3 separate regions of the Homo sapiens genome follow, and all the other regions are linked to region 2. Evidence: promoter capture Hi-C in human tissues and cell types (Jung and others, 2019). All regions are on one chromosome and are shown on one strand. Each heading gives the region's core, a stretch centred on a gene start or on the middle of the fragment in contact. The rest is flanking DNA. Distances are from core to core; before and after follow the strand shown. Region 1 has its middle 4.5 kb from the start of LINC03027. Region 2 holds the start of MSRB2 (methionine sulfoxide reductase B2). Region 3 has its middle 2.8 kb from the start of TRN-GTT2-3.

Evidence for each region. The method cuts DNA at HindIII sites, captures the fragments that hold promoters and counts their contacts. A contact is called where the count stands out against the background at its distance.
Region 1: a fragment that was not itself captured here is called in contact with the fragment with the promoter of MSRB2 in region 2 in 1 of the 25 tissues and cell types used here (lymphoblastoid cells).
Region 3: a fragment that was not itself captured here is called in contact with the fragment with the promoter of MSRB2 in region 2 in 1 of the 25 tissues and cell types used here (dorsolateral prefrontal cortex).

Annotation. Positions count from the first base shown.
Region 1 is chr10:22,431,776-22,435,047 of GRCh38, forward strand. No RefSeq gene overlaps it. Among named protein-coding and RNA genes, the nearest start is that of LINC03027, 4.5 kb to the right of the region's middle. The HindIII fragment of the contact is 7,336 bases long and covers 1-3,272 here.
Region 2 is chr10:23,093,680-23,096,864 of GRCh38, forward strand. It overlaps MSRB2 (methionine sulfoxide reductase B2), which reads left to right and starts at 1,900. Exons shown (of 5, transcript NM_012228.4): 1 at 1,900-2,047. The coding sequence starts at 1,930. It overlaps LOC107984215 (a long non-coding RNA gene), which reads right to left and starts at 1,600. Exons shown (of 3, transcript XR_001747394.2): 1 at 1,141-1,600. RefSeq lists a silencer at 1,708-2,177. The HindIII fragment of the contact is 14,874 bases long and covers 1-3,185 here.
Region 3 is chr10:22,225,177-22,228,392 of GRCh38, forward strand. It overlaps the pseudogene PSME2P6. Among named protein-coding and RNA genes, the nearest start is that of TRN-GTT2-3, 2.8 kb to the right of the region's middle. The HindIII fragment of the contact is 3,920 bases long and covers 1-3,216 here.

The DNA.
Region 1 (3,272 bases), core at 770-3,269, 660 kb before region 2:
TGCAATATTTTCCTTAGTATTTCTGTTTCTTGTCTTATTACAGAATGACTTCAGCATAATTTTAAATAATAGTGGTGAAAGCAGGCATATTTATACCTGCTTTTAATGAAAATGCCTGTCTGTCATTGAGTATGGAAATTTAAAAATATACACAGAAGTAAATGAAAGCCTAATGTGCCTCTCACCTAGCCTCAACAATTATCAACATTTTTGAACACACTTTTAGTGGAATTATAAATTAATGCAGTCTTTTGAATATTAATTTGGAAATAGCTATCCAAATATTGATCTGCAATTCTATTGCTAGGCATTAATCCAACAAGTACACCTGCATCAATGGGCAAAGACATTCAAGGATGCTCTAAATGTATGTAATTGCAGAAAACAAGAAAATAGTCTAAATGGTCCCTAATAGGTGAGTGAAAAATCACGGTTCATTCATATAACTGTACTTAACCACTACGAAAAATTTTGGTAGGTCTATATGTGCTGATGTGGGAAGATGTACAAAGTACTTTATGAAATTAAAAAATAAAAAGCAGGCCAGGTGCAGTGGCTCACACCTGTAATCCCAGCATTTTGGGAGGCCGAGGCGGGTGGATCACCTGAGGTCAGGAGTTCAAGACCAGCCTGGCCAACATGGCGGAACCCCCTCTCTACTAAAAATACAAAAATTAGCTGGGCATGGTGGCGTGCACCTGTAATCCCAGCTACTCAGGAGGCCTTCAGAGAGAAGGTGTAAAGTTAATTTGGCTGTCTTACCAGTACCATTATTATTTTTATAAAATCTTATTAAAAGATACGATGTTGGCTATCAGTTTAACATTTACTAAAAGTTTTTAAAAAATATAGTTGTTTTAATTGGGAATAGGTGCTAGATTTTTATCACTTATCGAGATAATAAGGTTTTTATTCTTATATAATCTAAATGTATTTTTATATAAACTATTTTCCTGGTATTGAAATATCCTGGCATTTCTAGGATAAAATCTACCTGATTGTTTAAAATGACTGACTTTATTGAATTTAATTTGCTGGCATTTTTGGTATTTTGGGGGGAATTCTGGCATTGAGTTTCTTATGTGAACTTTTATTTTTTGAGTGCCCTTTCTTTTTCTTTTTTTTGAGACGGGGTCTTGCTCTGTTACCCAGGCTGGAGTACAGTGATGAGATCATGGCTCACTGCAGCCTTGACCTATCAAGCTCATATGATCCTCCCACTTCATCTTTCCGAGTAGTTAGGACTGCAGGAGCCTACCACCAGCCAGGCCCAGATAATTTTTTACTCTTTGTATAGATAGGGTCTCTTGGAACTCCTGGGCTCAAGCGATCTTCCCCCCTTAGTTTCCCAAAGTGCTGGGATTACAGGTGTGAGCCATCATGCTTGGCGTATACCATTTTTGATAGGTTTTATAATAAAAGTGGTTTCACTCACAAAAAACTTAAATTTTAGTGTCTTTATTCATTTAGAAAGGGGATTTTATGTCTTTCAAAATTTGCAAGAATTTGCCTAAAGCCTCTCTTGGTCTTTAGGCGTTTTAAAATTTCTCCCCTAGCTTTGATCTACTTAGTTTTTCTACTCCTAGATTCAATTTGGGTGATTTATGGTTTTCCAGAAAAAAATGTTTAGCACATAGCTAATTTCACATAGCAGTCTCATATAATTTATAAAAAGTCTCCATGGCAGATCAGGAGGTCAGAAGATCAGGATCATCCTGGCTAACGCAGTGAAACCCCGCCTCTACTAAAAAATACAAAAAATTAGCCGGGTGTGGTGGCGGGCGCCTATAGTCCCAGCTACTTGGGAGGCTGAGGCAGGAGAATGGCGTGAACCTGGGAGGTGGAGCTTGTAGTGAGCTGAGATTGCACCACTGCACTCCAGCCTGGGCAACAGAGCAAGATTGTCTCAAAAAAAAAAAAAAAGTATCCATATCTGTTATATCTCCTTTCTCCTTTATATTTTCTTTTCTTTTTTTTTTTTTTAAATAGATTCATCAGCGATTTCTCCATTTTCTTGATCTTTTTCCAAAGAATTACCTTTGGAGTTGATCAAAAACATTGTTTCTAATCATTAATTTCTGCTCCAAAGTTTCCCTAATCCTCCATTTCTTGGAGTTTAATTTTTAAAAAACCATTAATCAGTTCACTTATTTTTACTCTTTCTAGTTCAATTTTTCCCTGCCAAATGATGTTACTAAACTCAGTGTGGTTTCAAATGACTTGAGTATTTCTAAAAATCTGCTCTCCGAGGAGGAAGATTTGCTATCACTGATGATGTCATTTAAAAGAATGTGACTCAGACTCTTGTGGCAAATTTCTAAAGAATTCTAAAAATGTTTGAGTAATGGGAACACAATTGCAGCAAGCTTATGACCTACTCTGAAGGAGCCAATTTGTAAAACCTGCACGTTTGCTGAACATTATCTGCCCTTATATATTTAGAAATAATCAAGTGCTAGGAATTAAAGAGGAGCTCTCACTTTTGTTTATTGGGATGCCTTCTGATACTGCATGTCTATGACCCAAGATATTCTTAATATTTTTCTTTTTGTGAAAATGTATTTAAACACATCATGTGTACAGCCTGGCTTCATTTTTGCTCCCAACAGAAATTAATCTCAGATGAAACATTTTTCAAAAAAAGATTAAAAACTGTTCACATGCTAGGATGACCAAGTTTTCCTTGCAAAAACCAATTCACTATGATGATGTGGATGAAGGCAGAATGTGTTATTAAAAATAATTAAGTGCTCTGATAGGCCACAATTATAAGCGATAAAAATATTCTCTAATAAAATGTATTGTGCCAATAGAAAGGTAGATTGCAGGTGTGACCTTTGGCAAGGTATGTAGTAGAACTTATTAGAGCCATGTGTTTGTAGATTATGTAACAGTTTTTAAGTGGTCAGGAAGGGGAGGATTTTGTGGTCAGAAAAGTGGAACTGCCCTATTTAACATATGACCCTGGCCATTCCCATCCCAAATTACTGTTGATCAAGTTACAGATAGTTGGGAAGCCCAGGTGAAAGGGAAGCCTAGAATAAGGCCCGACAAAATTGCAATAAACAGTAGGCCACAAAGCCAGTGGCCATTATCATTAAAAACACTTACTGAAGTATTTAATATAGAAAATAATGTCAAGAAAAATTGTTTTGCAAAGCACTATGAACCAGAAATCACTTAAAAAGGCTTTAACATATCCTCCCCTGATGTCTTTAGGAAAGCTAGAACATGACCAAAAACATAAGTAGACCTCCCCAGACTAACAGCTT
Region 2 (3,185 bases), core at 650-3,149:
TATTGATGTAAAAATAGACAAATTAATTAATGGGACAAAATAGGAAGTCCAGAAATAGACACAACACATTGATAGGAAACTGATTTTTGACAGATTCAAAAACAGTTCAGTGGAGAAAGAGTAGTCTTTTAAAAATTGGTGCTAGGAGCCAGGCCTGGTGGCTCACGCCTGTAATCCCAGCACTTTGGGAGGCCGAGGCAGGCAGATTACCTGAGATCAGGAGTTCAAGACCAGACTGGCCAACATGGTGAAACCCCGTCTCTACTAAAAATACAAAAATTAGCCAGACGTGGTGGCACACGCCTGTAATCCCAGCTACTCAGGAGGCTGAGGCAGAAGAATTGCTTGAGCCTGGAAGATGGAAGTTGCAGTGAGCCAAGATCGTGCCACTGCACTCCAGCCTGGCCGACAGAGACTCTGTCTCAATCAATCAATCAATCAATCAATAAAAATGGTGCTGGAACAACTGGATATAGATATGCAAAAAACAAAACAGATAAACAAAACAAAACAAAAATTTTGGCCATATATAAAAATTCTAAATCGGTCAGAGACCTAAATGTAAAACCTAGAACTATAAAAATTTTAGAACAAAACATAGGAGAGAATCTTTGTGATCTTGGATTAGGCAAAGATTTCTTAAATATGATACCAAAAAAAGAACAATCCATTAACAAATTGATAAATTGGGCTTCATCAAAATTAAAAACTGCTCTTCCCAAGACAATATTAGGAGACAGAAAAGACAAACAAGAGACTGGGAAAAAAAATCTTTGTAAAGCATATGTTTGATAAAAGATTTGCATCCAAAATATATAAAGTGTTCTAAGCTCAATAATGAAACAACTCAACATTAAATGGGCAAAAGATCTGAACGGACACTTCACCAAGGAAAATACACTCGCTGCAAATACGCACATGAAAAGATGCTTAACATCATTAACGATTAGAGAATGCATAATAAAGCCACAATGAGCTACCACTACACAGAACCGGAACATCTACAGTTAAAATCTCTGGACTTTCAAGTGTTGGCAAGGATGAAGAACAACTGGAACTCGCATAGACTGCTAGTGGGAAGGTAAAGAAAAAAACCACTTGGGAAAACAGTATAGTAGTTTCTTAAATGGTTACACCTACCTTACGACCTGGGCATTCCACTTCCAGGTATTTACCCCAGAGAGGAAAAACCGTATATGTCTGTACAAAGATTTGCACAGGGATGTTCCTAGCAGCTGTAGTTCTAATCAGGAAAAATTGAAAGCAGGCTAAATCAAGTGCTGACTAAACACACGGTGGTATATCCATAAATGGAATACTGCTCAGGAAGCAATGAATGATTGTTCCATGCAAAAACACGCAGGCATGTCAAAGTAACTATGTTGAGTGAAAGAAGCCAGACAAAATCAAGTACATATGGGATGATTCCATTTATGGACGACTCTAGAAAATGCAAACTAAAACAGATCAGTGTTTGGGCTGCGGATGAGTGGAGTTGGGATAGGTGGAGGGGGGCAGGGCGAGGGAGGAGCAGGAGTGGGAGGAGCTGGGAGATGCAGAGATGGGTTGGGGAGGGTCTCATGGAAGGGAAGGGAGAGAGGAAGGGGGAGAGGAAGGGGGAGGAAAGGCAAGGGGAAAAGGAGAGGAAGAGGGAGGGGGAGAGAGAGGCAGAGTGGGAGGAAAGAGGGGCGGGGACCTGGGAGGGCCCAGGGCACATAGTGGGAGGAGCAGGTGGGAAGGAGGGAAGGAGGGAGGGGCAGGGGAGGGAGAAGAGGGGGAGGGAGACGAGGGGACTGGCGGTGTGGGCGGAGCGTGGGGAGGGAGGCCGACTAGCGCAGGCGGACGGGAGAGAATGGGGGAGGGGTGGGATGGGAGCAGGGGCAGAGACGGGCAGAGGGCAGAGGGCGGAGCGGCGCCGGAGCGGGCGTCATGGCGCGGCTCCTCTGGTTGCTCCGGGGCCTGACCCTCGGAACTGCGCCTCGGCGGGCGGTGCGGGGCCAAGCGGGCGGCGGCGGGCCCGGCACCGGGCCGGGACTGGGGGAGGCAGGTAGGACGCGGGTCCCGCAGGCCCCGCCGCCGCCTACGGCTTTCGGCTTCATTTCACCGGCTGCACCCGGGAGCCTAGGGCCGGTCCAGGCCGGGCGCTGCCCTCCTACTAAGCCCTCCTCGGCGCGCCCCTCCCCCCCCCCAGCCCGAGGATCTGGGACAGTGGATTGTAAACTTGGTGGCGGCAGGGTGGGGACTGACCCCTGTGAGAATCCGAGGAAATGAACAAATGATCCCCCTAAATGTGCGCATAATTTTTTTTTTCTTGGCTCGGGGAGTGGGGGCATAAGTGGGGCTCGGGGGCCTCTGACCCCTATCGGGGACTCCAGGCGAAGGCCCGGGGCCTGGGCTGTAGCAGCCCGGCCCGCGCGCCCCTGCGAAGGCCCCTAGTATTTTGCATTGCAGCCCTCTTCGTAGTTCCGCGGGCTTCCTTCCAGCATCTGAGAAGCAGGCAGTTCAGACTTGGGGTTCCTGTGAGTGTTTCCTGCCCTGCTGACTTCCCATAAATGTGTCTAAGAGCCAGGGAGACTGGGTTGATCATTTGTTCCTTCTTTAAGGTGACAGCCATTGTTAATGACTGAGACAGAGACCAGGGCGAGCCTGTGTGTGTGTGTCTCTCTCTCTCTCTGTGTGTGTGTGTGTGTGTGTTTCTGCTAAATACTTTTGGATCCTCTCTTGGATCTGGGTACCTGCACATTTCACCAAGCAGGAAGGAGTCACCTCGGGAGACCTGTGCCAGCTACCCCTGTATTTCAGTTCTATTTCAGGGTAACTTAGTGCCCCAGGGGATTGGCTTCCTGGGCGGTTGCCAGACTGACCCACTCTGAATCCAATTTTATATGTGTTCATTGAAGACATTCAGAGATACCCAACTGATGAAAATGTACCAACTCATTCTGAGCTCTTTTTAGCCCCTGAAGTTTTCGAAATGCAATATTGAAAGAATACGTAACTAAATAAAAGCGTTGGCGTTGTGGAATGTTAGCTCATCCAACTTGACTTCCAGCTATGGCCTTTCTAATCACTGGTGTCTCTAGTCAGTCTGATGACATTTGCTGTGAGCCTACTGTGTGCCAAGCATTGTATTGCTGAGAACCACAGGTGATAGAAACAGGTCACAGTTACCGACGAGCTCTCTA
Region 3 (3,216 bases), core at 138-2,637, 870 kb before region 2:
TGTCCCCACCAAAACATATATTCTGAAGCCCTAATTCCCTATGTGATAGAAGCTGGAGATGGGGCTTTGGAGAAGTAATTAGTGTTACATGAGGTGATGAGGCTGTGGCTCTCATGATTGGATTAGTGTCCTTATGAGTAGAATATCAGAGAGCTAGACATTCCTTTCCCAGGTGCATGTGCAAAAAAGGGGTCACGTAAGCACACAGCAAGATGGCAGCTTTCCGCAGTCGAAGAGAAGAGTCAGCAGAATAAAACCTACCTTGCTGGCACCTTGATCTCGGACTTTTCATCCTTTAAACTGTGAGAAATAAATTTTGTCTGTTGTTTAACCCACCTGGTCTGTGGTGTTTTTTTATTGTAGGCTGAGCAGAGCAGACTAAGACACAGGATTTAGTCTTAAATTTATTTTTCAATACTGATCGACGACAAGTTAAAAATTCACATTTTAGGGATCAGGTGTTGGATCCATGTAATCACCAGAATGCATTTCTCTTTAAGAGTCCAGACTTCTGGCTTAACAAGATTGAAGATGGAAATGATTTTGGGGTAGCAATCCAGGATAAGGTGTTGGAGAGGGTGAATGCCATCAAGACCAAAGTGGAAGCTTTCCAGACAACCATTTCCAAGTATTTCTCAGAACGTGGGGATGCAGTGGCCAAGGCCTCCAAGGAGACTCATGTAATGGATTACCGGGTCTTGGTGCATGAGCGAGATGAGGCAGCCTATGCGGAGCTCAGGGCCATGGTGCTGGACCTGAGGGCCTTCTATGCTGAGCTTTATCATATCATCAGCAGCAACTTGGAGAAAACTGTCCACCCAAAGGGTGAAGAGAAGCCATCTATGTACTGAACCCAGGACTAGAAGGAAAATAAATGATCTATATGTTGTGTGGATAAAAAAAAAAAAAAGAAAAAAAATCACATTTTAACCTAATAATCTGTATGTTTACAGTTTAAAACTTATATTTTGGTAACTGGTAAAAAAACATAAAGGGGGGTTCTGGGATGTTGATAATTGTTTACAAAGATGTGTTAACTTTGTAAAAATGTATTCAGTTGTACTCAATAATTCGTGTACATTTCTGTATTTATGCTTAATCGAAAAGTTCCCTTTTCAATCATATTTCAAACAATTAAAATATTAAGATTTTTCTTAAAAATGTAGGCTTTAAAAATAACTTAAGATTTAAGTATTTGGTGTGATCTATAGACATAGTTTATTCTCACCCTATTCCTGTAAGCTCAACACTTAGTTTCAACATTAAAAACATAAAATACACTGACATTACCAAAAGGGATTAACCCCAAGGACTTAAAATGAAATAATACAGTTGATAAAATTAACATTCTTACTTAATTAAAATGTTTCAAGTTCTTTAACTATTTTCTAGTTAAATGTATTATAGCTTATTCTACCCTCAATTCATTGCTGTTTTCAGTTGTAGCTATAAATTGAAGAACATTTTAGGCCCTGTGTCCATCAAAATTCAGAGAAATAAAAGTTCATATTTGCATTATTCATTATCATGTATTATGCATGCAGAAACAGAGCAGTTAGGTTTCTTCAGGCTTTTTTTCCTAAACTTTGCATTGCATGACATCAGACACAAGTGTTAGAAACGAAAGCAGAGACACGTTAAACCATGTGGCTTCCTCCTAGCCTCCATTATTTTCTAAAGAAACACTTGCATTATAAAAATACTTTAAATGAATGACTTCTATGACTTTTGTGACAGATCTTTAATTTTTATCTATTATCTGTTTTGTCCTTTTCTGAATTAGATGAATAGTACATTCTCTAATGAGTTTTTATTTTTAAATCATAGCAATTGGTTCACCTTTTATTATGTTACTTCAGTGAATTTCCCTCTGATTGTGTATACGCAGTTTAAGTATACAACTCTATTAGCAACATTAGGAACATATTTACATACTCAAATATACAACATAGCCTTTTAAATGCTATTCAGCCTTTAATTAAAGCTTTAAATGATCTTGACATATATCTAGGTTTGGCTGGTATTACAGAGCCCAGAAATTAAGGACAAAAAGATGCTCCTCAGAAATAGCATTTATTGCAACATCAACAACCATGACACGTTGAAATTTTATAAGGCCAATGCATCCATAAATATTTGTGCAATTCTTCCAAATTGTTGCCCACCTACCTTTTTTTTTTTCTTGAGACAGGGTCTCACTCTGTCACCCACGCTGGAGTGCAATGAAGTGATCACCATGCTGGGTTAATTTTTTATTTTGTGTAGAGATGCTGTCTCATTCTGTCGCCCAGGCTGGTCTCCAACTCCTGGGCTCAAGTAATCCTCCTGCCTTGGCCTCCTAAAGTGCTGAGACTACCGGTGTCAGCCACCCACACTGGGACCCACCTATCTTACCTGCCTGCAAGAGCCAAGGAAATGGCCTAAGCACTTGTCCACATAATCACAGCAACTGCTTCTGCTTACATTAGAGGGGAGTTTTGCACTCAGTGTGACACCTCCATTCCCATTTAATTCTCCTCCATTTTCTGGTCTCTAAATCATATTAATACCCAAAATAGGGTGAAATAGAATGTATTTAGAAATTTAAGATCAAATTTTAAACTGCCACCTAGGCCCCTGGTCAAGTACAAATTCTGGTACTATCTCACAAAAGTGTCCTGAAACAGGGGTCTACGTGGATGTGCCAATTCCCAAACATCAGCTTGGGGTCAAAGAATCCTTAGTCTCTAGACTCCATGGCCTGAATCTATCCTGAATCTGTCTCCTTCCAGATTTTGCCTGCCTCTCTCTCTCATCTTGCCTTCTGTACCTAAATGCTAACAAATTGTTTCCCTAAGACAGATTCCCCAGGAATACTTCCTATGCACACACAGCTTTCATTTGAATAAAATTGAGCAGCCCAATGAATGCATAATTTAACAATGCCCTTTAGCACGCCACAAATGTTGTGTTGGTTTTTATTTTACCCCCTTTACAAGATTTGGAGCAAAATATTAACGAAACTTCATAAAAACCAATTCAAGTATCTTTTGGTTTCAAATTAACTAATTAGGTAGCTGTATTTTAGAGGAAGGAACTTCCAAGAAGGCAGTACATCAGGGAGGAGCTTGGGCTTGGGCCTGACTACCCAGGTTCCAAACTCACTGTGACTTCCGGCAAATTACTCAGCTATTTACTCAGTCGCACTGTGCCTCAGTTGCCTCATCTGTACAATGG